Linked DNA regions of Homo sapiens: all the other regions are linked to region 5. The links are contacts of gene promoters, found by promoter capture Hi-C in human tissues and cell types (Jung and others, 2019). All regions are on one chromosome and are shown on one strand. The core of a region is centred on a gene start or on the middle of the fragment in contact, and the rest is flanking DNA. Distances in the headings are between cores, read along the strand shown.

Region 1 (3,293 bases), core at 160-2,659, 1.1 Mb after region 5:
CTTTTTCCAAAATTGTTCCTCACAAGCAGGACCAGTCTGAGTCACCCACCCAGGGTGGGAAAGAAAAGTGTGACATTAGCCAGGGGAGTCTTGGGAGACTGGTCTCAGCACCTCTTTTTTCCCATTTCAGACGTGGGCTCCACCTCCTCCAGGAATCACCTCGGTTATGAGTCACAGCTGTGGGTTACAGGGGTCTGCAGAGCCACCAGGAAAGTTGTGGATGGGGAGCGGATGCCCCAGCCTTCTCTCCGGCAGGGGCGGCAGATCCCAGATTCCACAGGCCTCTCCCAACAGCTCCATCTTGCTTCCTGCCAGGAGGAGGGGCCAAGGAGGGCCCCCGAGTCTAGAAAGGCCCCAGTGGGAGGAGGCCGTTTGACAGCAGGTAACGCCAGGTGAAAATGTCCACAGGAGGGAATGAAAGGAAGGGCAGCAGGGCTGAGCGGAAGGAAAAACCGGGCTTGTGGTCACGAATGACTGCATAAAGGTGTGAGAGTGCCAGAGGAGTGAGCATAAGTAAAATGCCCAGGAGGGAGGAGGAGGCGACAGAGAGTGAGGCAAGTGAATAAAAGGGCGGAATACAGGGAGCTCTGGGGAGCGGGGGTGGGCGAGGCGGGTCTCAGGGTGAGGGGCAGAAGTATTAGAAAGGAGGACAACGTGGCTCAAATAAGGATCCCTAGAAGAGAAGGCAAGGGATCCGTGGGAAGGCCCGCTCTCCCTCCCCCGCACAGCCAGATCGAGGAGGCCTAAAAGGCGCTGAGAGCGAGGAAGTCAACGTGGGGGCGAAGCCTGCGCGGGGCAGGGACCCTCGGACATCCCAGCAACTCTCATTTATTGGGTGTCTGCTGTGGGCCACACGCCGCGCGAGGCACTCCACGAATAATACCTCGCCATATCTTCACGACAAGCCCGCAAGGCAGCCTTTTTCATGACTGCTCCCATTTTATAGATGAGGACACTGAGGCCCGGAGAGGCTCAGGACTCGCTCAAGGTCACAGGGCGGAGAAGAGGCCATTCGAACCCTCGGCGCCTGGCTCCGGAACCCACGCGGAAAGCCACGGCCAGCGAGCCGGCCACAGGCAGCCGCGACGCGGGCCGGGGCCCCGGGGATACCTCCCGCGCCCGCTCCCGCGCCAGGCCCTGCGCGCTCACCCGGACGAGGTTGCTGACGGCCGCCTGCACGGCGGCCACGGGCGCGGTGAGGTCAGGAATGGCTTTGCCGTCCACCTCGCCCTCCTCGTGCATTATCACCAGGTGGGAGATCTGCTGTGCCACCGGCTCCAGGATGCTCTCGATCGTGCGCGTATGAAACACTGGCATCGCGGCGGCGAGCGGGGCGGCGAACCGCGGGCGACAGAGAAGTAGGATCCACGGGGCCGGGAACCGGCGAAGAGACAGACTGTGCAGCGACTACGGAGTCGGGGCTTCCCTCGGCGTAACCAGCCTCACGGGCTCCCCGCCCCCTCTCGTCGCCGCGCCCAATGGCAGCGCAGCTCAGACCTGGGCCGCCACTCCTACTGGTCCCTTTTCGAGATGCTCCGCCCCAGCCACCGCGCCGCCAAACCCCGCCCCTCCCCCATTCCTAAGGGAGGGGCCTGGGATTGGGGCTGAGCCGCCGGGATTGCTACCGGATTCCCGAGCCCTAACGCCGGGCGCTCCTTATAAGGGCATGGTGGGAGCGGAGCGGGCCGCTGGAGCCGGCTGGTCCCGCCCCCGGGCCGCCTCCCGCCTCGGATCTGGGGGGCTCCGCCCCTCTGCAGAATCACCTCAGCGGGGCGGGGTCTCCTCACCTCAAGCGGCGCTAGAGTTTGATGAGACCAAGGGGTCTCCCACGTCCCCTCCTCAACTTTTCCCTTCACACGAAACCCTCAAAATACTCCTTCCATTCCCTCCCAGCAATGCATGGGAAGGTTTTTAGTAAAAGATTCAAACAGCAGAGGTGCACTGAGAAACAGCAGCGTCCCATTCACGTAAACGCAGACTCCGCCCCCTGCCCTCCTCAAAGACATTCTGTTTAACAGCTGGGTGTGTAGCCTTCTAGACTTGTCTATAGATTCACTTCTACATATATATTTTCTAACTAAATGAGATTAATAAACATTTTCCTGGAACTAGGTATGATTGCCCTTGATTAAAATGCCCTTATCTTTCACTGCTGGTAGAGGTCTACCTCATTCTTCTTAATGACTGCATGATATTCCATTGCATGAAATAAAACTATTTACAGAACCAATTTCCTACTCATGGACTTGGGTTGGGTCCTGGTTTTCACTATTAAAAAACAATTCTGCATGAATTGTACTTACCCCTGTGCTGTGCATCTGTGTATTTATCTAGCGCAAATGCCTACCAGGAAAGAGAAAAACGCAAAAGTATATGCATTTTATATTTTGATAGGTAAGACCAAATTATCCAGTTCCCTCACGCTTTGTATAAGACATCTTCCAGGCCGGGCGCGATGGCTCACGCCTGTAATCCCAGCACTTTGGGAGGCTGAGGCGGGCGGATCACGAGGTCAGGAGATCTAGGCCATCCTGTCTAACACGGTGAAACCCCGTATCTACTAAAAATACAAAAAAAATAGCCAGGCGTGGTGGCGGGCGCCTGTAGTCCCAGTTACTCATGAGGCTGAGGCAGGACAATGGCGTGAACCCGGGAGGCGGAGCTTGCAGTGAGCGGAGATCGCGCCACTACACTCCATCCTGGGCGACAGAGCAAGACTCTGTCTCAAAAAAAAAAAAAAAAAAAAAAAGACATCTTCCAAACGTCTTACTTACTTCAAATTCGCTTTTGCCCAAGCTTTCCCATTCTGAGGTAAACACTTTCAGTAATGCCTCCAAGCAAAAGATTCTCACATCAAATGAAAATTTTTGTCTAGTCCTACCACAACCACCACAGCTGTTTTCTCTGCCCATTACTTTGTGTTAATAGTATAAATATTTGGGTGATGGGGCCAGGCACGGTGGCTCACGCCTGTAATCCCAGCATTTTGGGAGGCTGAGGCAGGCAGATCACCTGAGGTCAGGGGTTCAAGACCAGCCTGGCCAACCTGGTGAAACCCCGTCTCAACTAAAAATACAAAAATTAGCCAGGTGTGGTGGCAGGTGCCTGTAATCCCAGCTAATCGGGAGGCTGAGACAGGAGACTTGCTTGAACCTGGGAGGTGGAGGTTGCAGTGAGCTGATACCGTGCCATTGCACTCTAGCCTGAGCAACAGAGTGAGACTCCCTGTCCAAAAAAAAAAAAGTTGAGTGATGGAACGATATGATTTTTTTATTTTAAAAATTATTTTATTT
Region 2 (3,036 bases), core at 412-2,911, 1.3 Mb after region 5:
CCGCATGTAACCCAAAAGAGGTGTCCAGAGCCAAGGCTTCTACCTTCATTGTCCCTCTCTGTGCTCAAGGAGTTCCATTCCAGGAGGAAGAGATCTATACCCTAAGCAGATAGCAAAGAAGATAATGGAGGAGCAATTGGTCATGGCCTTGGTTTCCCTCAAAACAACGCTGCAGATTTATCTGCACAAACATCTCCACTTTTGGGGGAAAGGTGGGTAGATTCCAGTTCCCTGGACTACCTTCAGGAGGCACGAGAGCTGGGAGAAGAGGCAAAGCTACAGGTTTACTTGGGAGCCAGCTGAGAAGAGAGCAGACTCACAGGTGCTGGTGCTTGGATTTAGCCAGGCTCCTCCGAGCACCTCATGCATGTCCCAGCCCCTGGGCCCTAGCCCTTTCCTGCCCTGCAGTCTGCAGTGCCAGCACGCAAATCCCTTCACCACAGGGTTTCGTTTTGCTGGCTTGAAGACAAATGGTCTTAGAATTCATTGAGACCCATAGCTTCATATGGCTGCTCCAGCCCCACTTCTTAGCATTCTTACTCCTCTTCTGGGGCTAATGTCAGCATCTATAGACAATAGACTATTAAAAAATCACCTTTTAAACAAGAAACGGAAGGCATTTGATGCAGAATTTTTGCATGACAACATAGAAATAATTTAAAAATAGTGTTTGTTCTGAATGTTGGTAGACCCTTCATAGCTTTGTTACAATGAAACCTTGAACTGAAAATATTTAATAAAATAACCTTTAAACAGTCCATTGTGTTACTGCTGTTGGAGGTTTACGGCCAGAGGCGTAGATTTTAGCAGCCTGGCTTACCAGGTTGGAGAGAGTACCTCCTCCTACTCCCTTTGGGTACTTTTGAGAATAAAACTTCCTCATGCCTGTAATCCCAGTACTTTGGGAGGCCGACGCGGGCGAATCACGAGGTCAGGAGTTCGAGACCAGCCTGGCTAATATGGTGAAACCCCGTCTCTACTAAAAAATACAAAAAATTTAGCTGGGCATAGTGGCGGGCGCCTGTAATCCCAGCTGCTCGGAAGGCTGAGGCAGGAGAATCGCTTGAACCTGGGAGGGGGAGGTTGCAGTGAGCCGAGGTCGCGCCACTGCACTCCAGCCCAGGCGACAGAGTGAGACTCCGTCTCAAAAAAAAAAAAAAAAAAAAAAAAAAAAAAAAAAAACTTCTCATAAACAGCCTCCAAACAGCGCTCGGTGCTGCGCAGGCGACGCGGGGCGGGGAGGGAGGGTGAGTGCCCTGGGAGCCGGCTGAGGGCCTCGCCCCGCCCCTGGTCCCGCCTCCGGTTAGGCCGCTCCGCCTCTTACTCCTCCCCTCCCCCGAGTGGGCCGGCCCGGCTCCCCCTCCGCGGGGCTGAGTGGATGAGCCCAGGCCTGAGCCCGCCCCTGCTCCGAAGTCGTGGTCCCCGACGCTCGGCCGGCAGTGCCATCGCGCGGAGAGGAGGGGGTGCGCTTCCGCGGGCGGGGCGCGGAGCCCGCCGTCTCGGAGGCCGCGGCTCGGCCCGGCACTGCGGAGGGCCGCTTGATTTCCCGGAACCCAGGTCGCGCGGCTGCTAGGGCCGGAGCCGGTGGATCCGAGCGGGTGCCACCAGCGGCGGCGCGCCGCCTCCCCCGGTGGGAGCGGTGGTTGGGCCAGGCTGCGGCAGAGCGTTCGCTCGGAGATGGCGGAGCAGCCGCGACGCGGCCCGTGGCCCCGAAAGCAGGGAAGCCGGGCAGCCCCGGGACGCGGCGGAGCCCGGGGACAGCGGGGACGCCGCCCAGTCCTCCGGGTGAGCCGCCCCTGAGGAGACCCCCCCGCCCACGGTCGCGCTCAGGCCCCCCCAACAGACTCCCTTGGATGTTGCCACCATCACCACCCGCAGGGTCGTCCCGGGCGGCCCAGCGTGCGCCGCGCCCCGGGTCCTTTCCGCCGGCCTCCCTCAGAACCGCCTCGCTCCCCTCCGGACCGGGCGGGCTCCCTTCTTCCCGCAGGGCTCTCCCAGCCCAGAGGCTGTCTCGATGTCACCCCGGAGTCGCCGCCGCGCGCCTGTGGCCCCTTCCCCTTTGGTGTCCCACATCCGGTGCGCTCTTCGCATCCACCTGTGCCCCCGTCTCCTCTCGGCGGGGCCCCTCCACCCGCCAGCCCCGGGCCCCCTCGGCGCCCGCAGCCTCCGCGCCGCTGCTCCGGCCGTCCCGGCCTCCCCAAGCCCGGGCCCGGCCCCGGCCCCCGTCTGGCTTCGCCGTCCTCAGAGATCTCCCGCACACACCCACCCCGCCCAGCCCTGCTGGCCCTCAGTGTTCACTGGCCCGGCCTGCGGCGCTCCCGGCGCCCCTTCCCTAAACCTTGCTGCTTCTTCCAGGTATGAAGCTAAAATGCAGCGGCTAAGAACGCGGCTCTGGAGCTTGACAGGCCTGACGTCGAATCCCAGCCCTCCCACCAACTGAGCTGTGTGATCCTGGGCAAGGTTCTAAGCTTCTCTGAGTTACTCATATGTGAAATGGGGATAATGGAGCATGTACCTTTTCCCTACCTCTTAGGGCTGGTGTGAAGATTAAATATATGTGAAGCTCTTAGAAGAATGGCTGGCAAGTTGTAATTTCTCAAATACGGGATGATACACCCTGAGTATCAACTTCCCGTCAGTGACCTCCTCACTACAATGTTTTCTCTAAAGTTGCATCACATTCTTAGCATTCACCCCTTCCCGTCACCATTTTGATCCTCTCCCCCAGCTGTCTTCTCGTGTCGTTTTACCTAGGCCAAAGCTGAACTGTTTTATTTTTATTTTTATTTTTATTTTTTTTTGAGCTGGAGTCTAGCTCTGTCACCCAGGCTGGAGTACAGTGGCACAATCTCAGCTCACTGCAATTTCCGCCTCCCACGTTCAAGTGATTCTCCTGCCTCAGCCTCCTGAGTAGCTGGGACTACAGGCGCCCACCACCATGCCCATCTAATTTTTGTATTTTTAGTAGAGACGGGGCTTCACCATGTTGGCCAGGCTGGTCTCGAACTCCTGACCTCAAGTGATCACCCGCTTCGG
Region 3 (3,177 bases), core at 423-2,922, 1.3 Mb after region 5:
CTTGTCTCCACAAAAAAATACAAAAATTAGCTGGGCACGGTGGCTCATGCTTGTGGTCCCAGCTACTGGGGAGGCTGAAGTGGGAGGATTGCTTGAGCCCAGGAGGTCAAGGCTGCGGTGAGCTGTGTTCACGACATTGCACTCTAACCCAGGCAACAGAGTGAGACCCTGTCTCAAAAATAAAATAATAAAATAACTTTGGGTTTTTTTCTCTACGCAAAATCATCAGAAGTGCTCCTTAAATGCCCTGTTTGGAAGCTCTTAAGTACATTGTTTCTTAAAGGTATCTTTGTACTTGTTTTAGCTGCCTTACTGGATGCCAGACCTCAGGGCAGCTATTGGGTCTTGTCCATCTTCATTATCCTAGGCACTCAATAAACATTTAGGGAAATGAATGAGTGCACCCACCGCCAAAGTAGCTTAGGTTGTTTAGTTGGACTCTCCTTCCTAAGTTGCCAGCACAAGCTTCTTCTCCAAGAACAAAGTTACTGTATGGAGAAAGAGAAAGAAGGAAGGGATTGGATGCTCTCTTCTTCCTCAGGATTCTGGGCTGTCTCCTGATCTCTTGGAAATGAGTTGGTTGTGTTAGACCTTTCCAGTCAAAAGGGGGTGAGAGGAACCCGTTCTAGCGGTGATCCTAGAAAAACCATTGCATCTGCCTGGGCCTCGGTTTCCTCTTTCTTTAAATAGGTTGAACAAGATGATGTGCAGAGTCTAAGGTTCCAGTGGCCGTTAAGTGATTCTCTGTGAATCCGTGGCCCCTTGTCACATGCCTTAGTCTGCAGCATGTGGTTGTGGATGTGGATGAGGTGGTTTAACCCTGCGCTAACATTTCTTTTCCTTCTGCTTTTTTAGCCACTGTATACATCAGATTCTGGAGAGTGTTAACCACATCCACCAGCATGACATCGTCCACAGGGACCTGAAGGTACTACCCAGGCTCCCCTCCGTGCCTCTGCTCATGAAGTGTTGGCGCCACCTGGTGCCAGATAGTGGTACTGCGTAGGCCCAAACTAGGCTTCCTCTGGGCTGCAGGGTGGGTGCTCACAAGGTTCTCTGTGTTTCTTCTGCAGCCTGAGAACCTGCTGCTGGCGAGTAAATGCAAGGGTGCCGCCGTCAAGCTGGCTGATTTTGGCCTAGCCATCGAAGTACAGGGAGAGCAGCAGGCTTGGTTTGGTAAGGGTGATCCTGTCTTCCCGGAATGCAGCCCCCGCCCTTCCTCCTCTTCCTGATCTGCCTTCCTCTATTAGAACTAGAAGCCAGACCCTTAATGGTCCTGGCCTCCGAGATCTCTCTTGGCCGTACGCGACTCAGTACAGTAAGTCTAGCTGTTGTCAGCACTGCTTTCTTGCTGCCTGTGGGAAGGAGCTGGAGTTCCTGGTAGGCATACGGCTTTGCCGTCTGGTTCAGATTCCAGGCGCTACAAGAAGCCCAGCCTGTCAGCTCTTGCTGCCCATGTGCTGAGAGTTTATGTAGCAAAAGCAGCAGGAATAAGATGGGACTTGGGGGAAATGGCTGGTGTGGATTTAACGAGAGAGAAAGTGGGTTCAGTATGCCTCTGCCCTCTCTTTTGCTACAGGTTTTGCTGGCACCCCAGGTTACTTGTCCCCTGAGGTCTTGAGGAAAGATCCCTATGGAAAACCTGTGGATATCTGGGCCTGCGGTAAGCCCATTCCACGCTCTCAGCTTTTCGCTGTTAAGGGCCCTCAACTTCCGATGATGGCAAGAAAGAGGCATCGCTATTCCTTGCAGGTCACACACGTGCCTGGTGTATGTGAAATTATGGTGTTTGCCCCTGGGATGGCTGTTCCCATCACACCCTCCTCCCTGCGTACTTCTGGGATGACATTGTATCCTTCTTGGAGAGGGATTTGCCCACGCCTTAGAGGATGGGTTGTGCCTAAAGAAATCCCTGGTGTGACTTGGTGACGTGAAGTGTGAGGCATAGCAGGAGGGGCTGGTAGCATAGCATTATCGGCTGGCATCCACTTCTGACTCTGGTATGGCCCCTGCCTTTCTAGGTGGCTCTGAGCCCTGCATGGTTTTTCTTGGTTCCTCAGGGAAGTAGGCGACTGACCCCCATGACCTGTGTGTTCTGTCTCGTAGGGGTCATCCTGTATATCCTCCTGGTGGGCTATCCTCCCTTCTGGGATGAGGATCAGCACAAGCTGTATCAGCAGATCAAGGCTGGAGCCTATGATGTAAGGACCAGAGAGCCGGGCAGCCAGGCCAGGAAGGGCAGATGTCCTTGCTCCTCGGGCTCTGTCCAAGGGAGCAGGCTTGTTTAGTGTGTCACGTGATACGGGGGTGTCAGGGGACTTTGAGGACCCAGGAATGGGCATCCAGGGCCCAATTCTTGCCACTCTATGTCCCAGGGAGCAACTTTCTTTTGCACAGCCTTCTTCATAACTAAAATTGAGGAGTCCACTGAAGTCCTTTGATCTTTACTTGCAAAGAATGGAGCGGCCTCATTGGTGTGCTGTGTAACACAGGGACAAAAGGCCTGGAGACTCCCTCCACTGCAGTGGCACCTTGGACACATTGCTGAGCCTCTGTTCCCTCCTAAGTATAGAGCTGGGCTTAAACCAGAGAATGTTGGAGTCCCCTTCCCGCTCTAATCTGATGTTCTGGCATTCTAAACATGACTGTTCTGTCTGTCTTTCCAAGTCTTTAAGTTGACACAGGTTCTGGAATAGCCGCAGGGCTTCTCCAACTCTGCCAGTCACAGCTTTAGGTACCACAGAGTATCCCAATTACAGGAGTTGAGTTGAAGACAGAACCAGTGTTGCAGGGTATGAAGCTCACCAATACCACATTCTTCTCCCTATTCCTGCTCCTTAGTTCCCATCACCAGAATGGGACACGGTAACTCCTGAAGCCAAGAACTTGATCAACCAGATGCTGACCATAAACCCAGCAAAGCGCATCACGGCTGACCAGGCTCTCAAGCACCCGTGGGTCTGTGTAAGTGTCTTTGCTAGTGGCCAAGGAGCTCAGGGGTGTCAGCCTTCTGTGTGCCCTCGGCACCACCCCCTCCTTCTTACCAGCAGAGATTCATTCTGGGCCCCAAGCAATAACTGAGCAGGCGGGCAGAGGACTGTTGAGGGCCAGGGTCAATAAATGTCACCAGGGAGACTCGGGAGGCTGATGGGGCTGGTGGGCCACTGCTCCTCTCTC
Region 4 (3,187 bases), core at 360-2,859, 1.2 Mb after region 5:
GTAGCTACTTTTACAATTGAATAAAAATGTTTAGTTTAAAAAGCCAATTTTTTTATGGCTTCTAGAACTTAATTCACTTTCTGGATTTTGAAAAATAGTGCCTGAGGGCAAGAGGTGATAGTCAAAATATTTAACTATCAAGATACCCCAGTAGGACACTTTCGCCTGAGCCAGCTGGAGGAGGGAGGATCTCAGAGGCCTTTGCTGTGCCACAGGCATTAACCCTGTGGTTGCTGGATCATGAAGAAGTGGAGAGAGGCTGATGGCAGGGGCCACGCGGAGAGGATCTCAGGACAGCATCTGTTTAGTCACTGAGCAGAACCAGTGCCTGCTGCTGAGAATCAGTCCTGCAGCAGGGTCATCACCAGCTGGATCCCACCAGATCCTTCCCCACCATCTCCACCTACTCATTGCCCCCCAGAGTTCTCCACCACAATGGACTATTCCTCATTTCCTTAGAACACCTCACCTTTTCATGCCTCCATGAACTTCCCTACGCCTACAATGCCTTTCTTCTAGTTTGGCAAATTTCTGTGTGTATTTGAATGTCCAGGTAAAATATCACCTCTTCTGTAAAGTCGTCATTGACTTCACCAGGCAGAATCAATTGCTTCTTCATTATTTTTCCATGCATTTTATGCAGACTTAGTATAGCACTTTGCAAAGTGGTGAGCTCCTTGAGGACTAGGACTGCCTCATTTGTATCTAAAATAATGTCCTGTGTATGGGTACTTTAAAAAAATGACAAAGGGCCGGGCGCAGTGGCTCATGCCTGTAATCCCAGCACTTTGGGAGGCCGAAGCAGGTGGATCATGAGGTCAGGAATTTAAGATCGGCCTGGCCAAGACGGTGAAACCTCGTCTCTACTAAAAATAGAAAAAAATTAGTGGGGCATGGTGGCAGGCACCTGTAATCCCAGCTACTCGGGAGGCTGAGGCAGAGAATTGCTTGAACCTGGGAGGCAGAGATTGCAGTAAGCCGAGATTGCGCCACTGCACTCCAGCCTGGGCGACAGAGCGAGATTCCATCTCAAAAAAAAAAAGAAAGAAAGAAAGAAATGACAAAGATTGTTGAATGAATCTCAATGTGACTGAAACCTCAAAAAGAGACCTAGAACATCCTTTTTTTTTTTTTTTTTTTTTTGAGATGGGGCCTCTTTATGTTGCCCAGGCTGTTCTGGAACTCCTGAACTCAAGGGATCCTCCCACTTTGGTATCCCAAAGTGCTGGAATTTACAGATGTGAGCCACTGCACCTCGCCTAGACCATCTTTTCCCTCAATTTGTTATTAAAACTCAGCAACCTCACTGACACATGCTATGCCATGGATAAAACTTGAAAACATCATGTTAAGAGTGAAAGAGGCCAGTCACAAAGAACCACATATTATAGGATTCTATTGATATGAAATGCCCAGAATTGGCAAACCCACAGAGAGGACAGAAAGTAGTAAATTAGTGATTGCCTAGGGCTGAGGGGGTTGGGGAGAAAAACGGAGTGATTGTGAGTGGGTACAGGATTTCTTTGTGAGGTGATGAAGTGTTCTAAAATTGATTGTGATGTCTCACAATTCTGTGAATCTACTAAAAACCATTGCATTGTACACTTCAAATGGTGCCAGACGTGGTGGTATGAGCCTGTAATTCCAGCCACTCAGGAGGCTGAGGTGGGAGGATCACTCTGGCCTAGGAGTTTGAGATCAGCCTGGGTGACAGAGCAAGACCCTGTCTCTAGAAAAGAGAAAGAATAAATGGGTAAGTTGTATGATATATGAATTATATCTCAATAAAACTGATTTTTTTTCTTTAGAGACAGGGTCTTGCTCTGTCACCCAGGCTGGAGTGCAGTAGTGCAATCATAGCTCACTGCAGCCTCGAGCTCCTGGGCTCAAGCAATCCTCCCGTCTAGGCCTCCCACAGTATTAGGATTACAGGTGTGAGCCATTGCACCTAGCCCAGAATTGATTTTTAAAAAACACCTCAGCAACTCCTCTTACTTCATCTAATTCAAAGGGAGGGCTTAAATGTTTCCTTCTTGGAAGGAAGGTGGACCCAATGGGAGTGAGTATGGAGGGGTATAGGCAGGGGTGCTGCTGTGGTCAGCTTGGGAAAGATAGGGCATACGTGGAAAGCAGGCTGAGTGCTGTTAATATAATGGGCTGAGAATACTTCAGAAAGAGGGGTTCTGGTGAAAACGGAAACCACTTCAATGAAACCAGATTGCAGCAGAAAGGCTGAGGTTACTGTGAGAACAGTGAAGTTTTACTTTGAAACCAATGGCTGAGTGTGGTCTCCTCATCTGGCCTGGGAATCTTCTAGGAGGAAAGAATTGTTATCTAGGAGAGGATTAAAATTCTGATAGATGAGGCTGGGCGCAGTGGCTCACGCCTGTAATCCCAGCACTTTGGGAGGCCGAGGTGGGTGAACCACGAGGTCAGGAGTTTGAGACCAGCCTGGCCAACATGGTGAAACCCCCGTCTCTACTAAAAATACAAAAATTAGCCGGGTGTGGTGGTGCACGCCTGTAATCCCAGCTACTCAGGAGGCTGAGGCAGGATAATAGCTTGAACCTGGGAAGCAGAGGTTGCAGTGAGCCGAGATGGGCCACTGCACTCCAACCTGGGCGACAGAGCAAGACTGTGTATGGAAAAAAAAAAAAAAATTCTGGGCTGGGCGGGTGGCTTACAACTGTAATCCCAGCACTTTGGGAGCCCAAAGCGGGTGGATCACAAGGTCAAGAGACCGAGACCATCCTGGCCAACATGGTGAAACCCCGTCTCTACTAAAAATACAAAAATTAGCCGGGCGTGGTGGCATGTGCCTGTAATCTCAGCTACTCAGGAGGCTGAGGCAGGAGGATCACTTGAACCCGGGAGGCGGAGGTTGCAGTGAGCCAGGATTACGCCACTGCACTCCAGCCTGGCAACAGAGTGAGACTCCGTCTCAAAAAAAAAAAAAAAATTCTGATAGCTGTTGCCTAGAAACCCAGCAACCATAAAGTAGAAAGCTTGAAAGGGGGGCTGCTCTCCTTTTGCCCTAGTTGGACTCTCCTGAGAGGTGATAAATCCTAGTACCGCGCATGAGGACTCTGGAGATGGCTGCCTGGGTTCGAACCCTGACTCTTTGCATTTGGAGCTGCATTGCCTCGTGCAAGTCACTCAATCTGTCTGTGCCTCCATTTTCTCTACT
Region 5 (3,029 bases), core at 373-2,872:
TTCATGGAACCATGTTATGACTTAACAATCACAAAAGGAAGTCAATTTATCTCTACTAAAGTGAATATAAATATTGCAATCATTCTTTTTCTGGCATAATTATGTTTTGGAACTATGTCTTCTATAAAAAGCATCTGTATACCCACCTGTCCCAGTTGTGTTGGCTGCCAACTACAAGCATCCTCTGTCCTTATTTTTCCAAATCACTCTACTAAAAATACTATTCACACAATACCTGCAAAATAGTATTTCAATATTGGTTTTGCCAATCAGTCAAAGGTACCTCTCCAATTTTCAAGAGATAAGTCCAATCCTGGGGTTATCAGTGAGAGGAAGATTTGGTATTGCGCCTAGACTGTGGCAAGTTCACTGTGCCCCCTTCACCCAGAAACTTGCATTGACCATACATTTACTATGTGGCAAATACATGTGTCAACTTAAAACTTTGAAAGTGGAACCAGTCCATGTTGAGTATCTGTAAAATCCAAGTGTCCAAATTCTTGTTTCAAGTTTAATTTTTAAAATCTGAGTATCCAAAGTCTTGTTTCAAGTTTTTAAAACTTAAAGGTAATATAGTAAATTTTTAGGATCTTAACATGTCTGGTATTTAAACTTAGCTACGAAAAAATTACAATGAAAAAAAGGACACCATTACTGTCAATAAATCCAAATGATATCTTCATTTTCAGAATCACGTCTTCCACTACCTTCTTCAAACATCACTTCCTCTCCACTACTTCCCCCAGTCCTTTAGGCAAATCAGTGATTCACACCGCCCCTTCCACCCAAGATTCTTAAAATGATCCACTGTGCACGAACGAGAAAGCCCCACGATCCAAGTACATTGCCCTAGTGATCTTTGATGTTTTAAAAGGCACCTGTAAAAATGCCAAAGCCCAAAATTAGATCCCCAAGGGCTCCTTTTCTTTCTTGACCACACTTCTCTTTTTCAGTGCCTCCCTCACCCCTTGAGGCCAGACGATTTCCCATCCAACAGCCCTCCTCCTTCTAGTCAAACCTAAATCCTGCCCTCCATCACCACCAGCCCCACCCGGGGTGGGAGGCGGATAAGAGGGCTCCGTAAGAGGAGAACCCCATGAGAGGGCTCCAGTCCCAGCCCCGATCGCCCTCCCTCGCCCTGGGAAGGGAACACCGGCCCAGGTCTTGCTCCTCTGACTCCTCATCCCCGCTGCCAAACCCAGAGCATCTCTTCTTCCGGGTCCACATTCCCGCAGGACCTTCGATCTTTTTCCCCCACTGCGCAGCTTTCAAAAGCCCCCAAGCTCTGGGCTCTTCAAGCCTCCCCCTCTCGCTCTCTCCCTCTCGTTCCTCGGCCTCCACTTATCCCTCAGCCTTCAGGCCCTCAGTTCGACAACCTCCATTTGCTTCAGATTCCATTCCAGAGCTGACTATCCCGGTTCCCTCAACCGTCTCCCCGGGGCCCCTCCAGGTCGCGGTCCCTCGGCAGCCCCCGGCTCCATCCCAGACTCCCCACTCACCCTTGGCAGCAGGCGCCCCCCAAGCTCCCCTCTCCTCAGCCTCAGCTCCCGCTCACCTCCGCGGTCCGAGTCGGGCTCCCCGGACCCACCTCCGAGTCGGCGTCCGAGCCGCCGTCGGAGTCCGGGGCCCTCCCCGCCTCGCCGGAGTGAAGCGCCTCAAGCGGCGGGGGCGGAGCCCGGGGCGGGGAGCCGGAGTGGAGGCGGGGGCGGTGGCGACTGCGCGCAGGCATCGTCCCGGCCGCCGTCACCGCCGCGCCGGCAGCTGCTCGGAGCCGAACCGGAACTGCTTCGGGAGGCGGGGCCCTACCGGCCGGGGACGGGGTTCTACCGGCAGGGGGCGGGGCCCACACTGGAAAAGACGCGAGGCTCCAGATGGGCCCGAGAGGAGAACCGAGATGCTGCCGCGGAGGAGCCCGAGGGCGCATGCGTCATGCCGGAGGCCAAAGCGACAGGAGGAAGCGGGGCTAGCGGAGCCGGGGCGGGGCCTGTGGGATCAGTAAATGGGGTTAGGGCCTAGAAGGAGGTAATCCGAATTCCTCTGGAGAGAGCCAGCTCTTCTCCAATAGCCAGCCCCCAATGATCATTGTTATAATTTATTGCCCATTTACTCTTTGACAGTGTCTATGCCAAACGCCATATAAACATCTCATTTAATCCTTGTGCTAAGGCCGGGAGCGGAGGCTCACGTCTGTAATCCCAGCACTTTGGGAGGCTGAGGCGGGATCACCTGAGGTCAGGAGTTCGAGACCAGCCTGGCCAGCATGGGGAAACCTCGTCTGTACTAAAAATACAAAAATTAGCCGGGCGTGGTGGTGCATACCTGTAATCCCAGCTACTCGGGAGGCTGAGGCAGGAGAATCGCTTGAACCCGGGAAATGGAGGTTGCAATGAGCCGAGATCACGCCATGGCACTCCAGCCTGGGCGACAAGAGCAAACTCCATCTCAAAAAAAAAATCCTAGTGCTAATTCTGCAAGGGGGATCCTATAGCACAGAAAAGTAAAGAAACATACTGCCTGACATATTGCAAACTGATATTCCAACCCAAATCTCTCTAACATCAGATCCTGTATTTTCCTCACTCCACCATGCTGCACCACCCTGAGGGAAGGTCTCCTCCCAAGCCAGGTCTAGCATTGGCATAAACCAAGTCCAAACCCAGCTGTAACCTGGACACGAGCCCCTCCTTGGTCTTGCCTCCCCACACAGTGCCGGGCCGACTTCAATGGTTCTGAATGGGATAGACATGAGTGTAGACTGCTTCCATGGGATGCCCTGGTGTGGCCTTTCCCTTCAAACTGGTCTTAAGGCCAAGGGCAGCTGGGAACCTCCCCACTGCAGCTCATACCCTTCCCAGCTCCATTAGGGCCACTGAGAAGTCACATGAGAGAGGGTGAGACATCTCATCTCTCTTGCTGATAACCAGCTCTGGCAGAAGGACAGGTTGACCTTTCTCAGTTTCTATTTTGGGACCCAAAGCCCTTATAGGCAGAGGAATCTCCCTCCCACTGTTTCTGATGACAGTTAGCCC

What was found. Contacts are between HindIII fragments. The study calls those that stand out against the background at their distance.
Region 1: the fragment with the promoter of VCL here is called in contact with the fragment with the promoter of SAMD8 in region 5 in 1 of the 25 tissues and cell types used here (dorsolateral prefrontal cortex).
Region 2: the fragment with the promoter of NDST2 here is called in contact with the fragment with the promoter of SAMD8 in region 5 in 1 of the 25 tissues and cell types used here (aorta).
Region 3: a fragment that was not itself captured here is called in contact with the fragment with the promoter of SAMD8 in region 5 in 1 of the 25 tissues and cell types used here (liver).
Region 4: the fragment with the promoter of C10orf55 here is called in contact with the fragment with the promoter of SAMD8 in region 5 in 1 of the 25 tissues and cell types used here (heart left ventricle).

The regions. Positions count from the first base shown.
Region 1 is chr10:73,996,232-73,999,524 of GRCh38, reverse strand. It overlaps VCL (vinculin), which reads right to left and starts at 1,409. Exons shown (of 22, transcript NM_014000.3): 1 at 1,150-1,409. The coding sequence starts at 1,317. RefSeq lists enhancers at 457-1,108, 1,181-1,380 and silencers at 1,061-1,110, 1,441-1,800. The HindIII fragment of the contact is 15,261 bases long and covers 1-3,293 here.
Region 2 is chr10:73,810,223-73,813,258 of GRCh38, reverse strand. NDST2 (N-deacetylase and N-sulfotransferase 2) reads left to right here and starts at 1,661. Exons shown (of 15, transcript NM_003635.4): 1 at 1,661-1,785; 2 at 2,356-2,460. CAMK2G (calcium/calmodulin dependent protein kinase II gamma) reads left to right here. Exons shown (of 23, transcript NM_001367534.1): 23 at 1-758. It overlaps NDST2-ZSWIM8-AS1 (NDST2-ZSWIM8-AS1 readthrough), which reads left to right and starts at 1,439. Exons shown (of 18, transcript NR_182658.1): 1 at 1,439-1,785; 2 at 2,356-2,460. RefSeq lists silencers at 1,147-1,856, 2,157-2,226. The HindIII fragment of the contact is 10,328 bases long and covers 1-2,846 here.
Region 3 is chr10:73,847,012-73,850,188 of GRCh38, reverse strand. CAMK2G (calcium/calmodulin dependent protein kinase II gamma) reads left to right here. Exons shown (of 23, transcript NM_001367534.1): 6 at 856-928; 7 at 1,074-1,176; 8 at 1,580-1,663; 9 at 2,107-2,201; 10 at 2,842-2,964. Among named protein-coding and RNA genes, the nearest start is that of CAMK2G, 26 kb to the left of the region's middle. The HindIII fragment of the contact is 4,404 bases long and covers 1-3,177 here.
Region 4 is chr10:73,921,199-73,924,385 of GRCh38, reverse strand. C10orf55 (chromosome 10 putative open reading frame 55) reads left to right here and starts at 1,609. Exons shown (of 5, transcript NR_160938.1): 1 at 1,609-1,753. RefSeq lists an enhancer at 2,919-3,187. The HindIII fragment of the contact is 6,339 bases long and covers 1,431-3,187 here.
Region 5 is chr10:75,110,249-75,113,277 of GRCh38, reverse strand. SAMD8 (sterile alpha motif domain containing 8) reads right to left here and starts at 1,622. Exons shown (of 6, transcript NM_001174156.2): 1 at 1,556-1,622. RefSeq lists enhancers at 914-1,862, 1,863-2,812 and a silencer at 1,536-1,875. The HindIII fragment of the contact is 21,981 bases long and covers 1-3,029 here.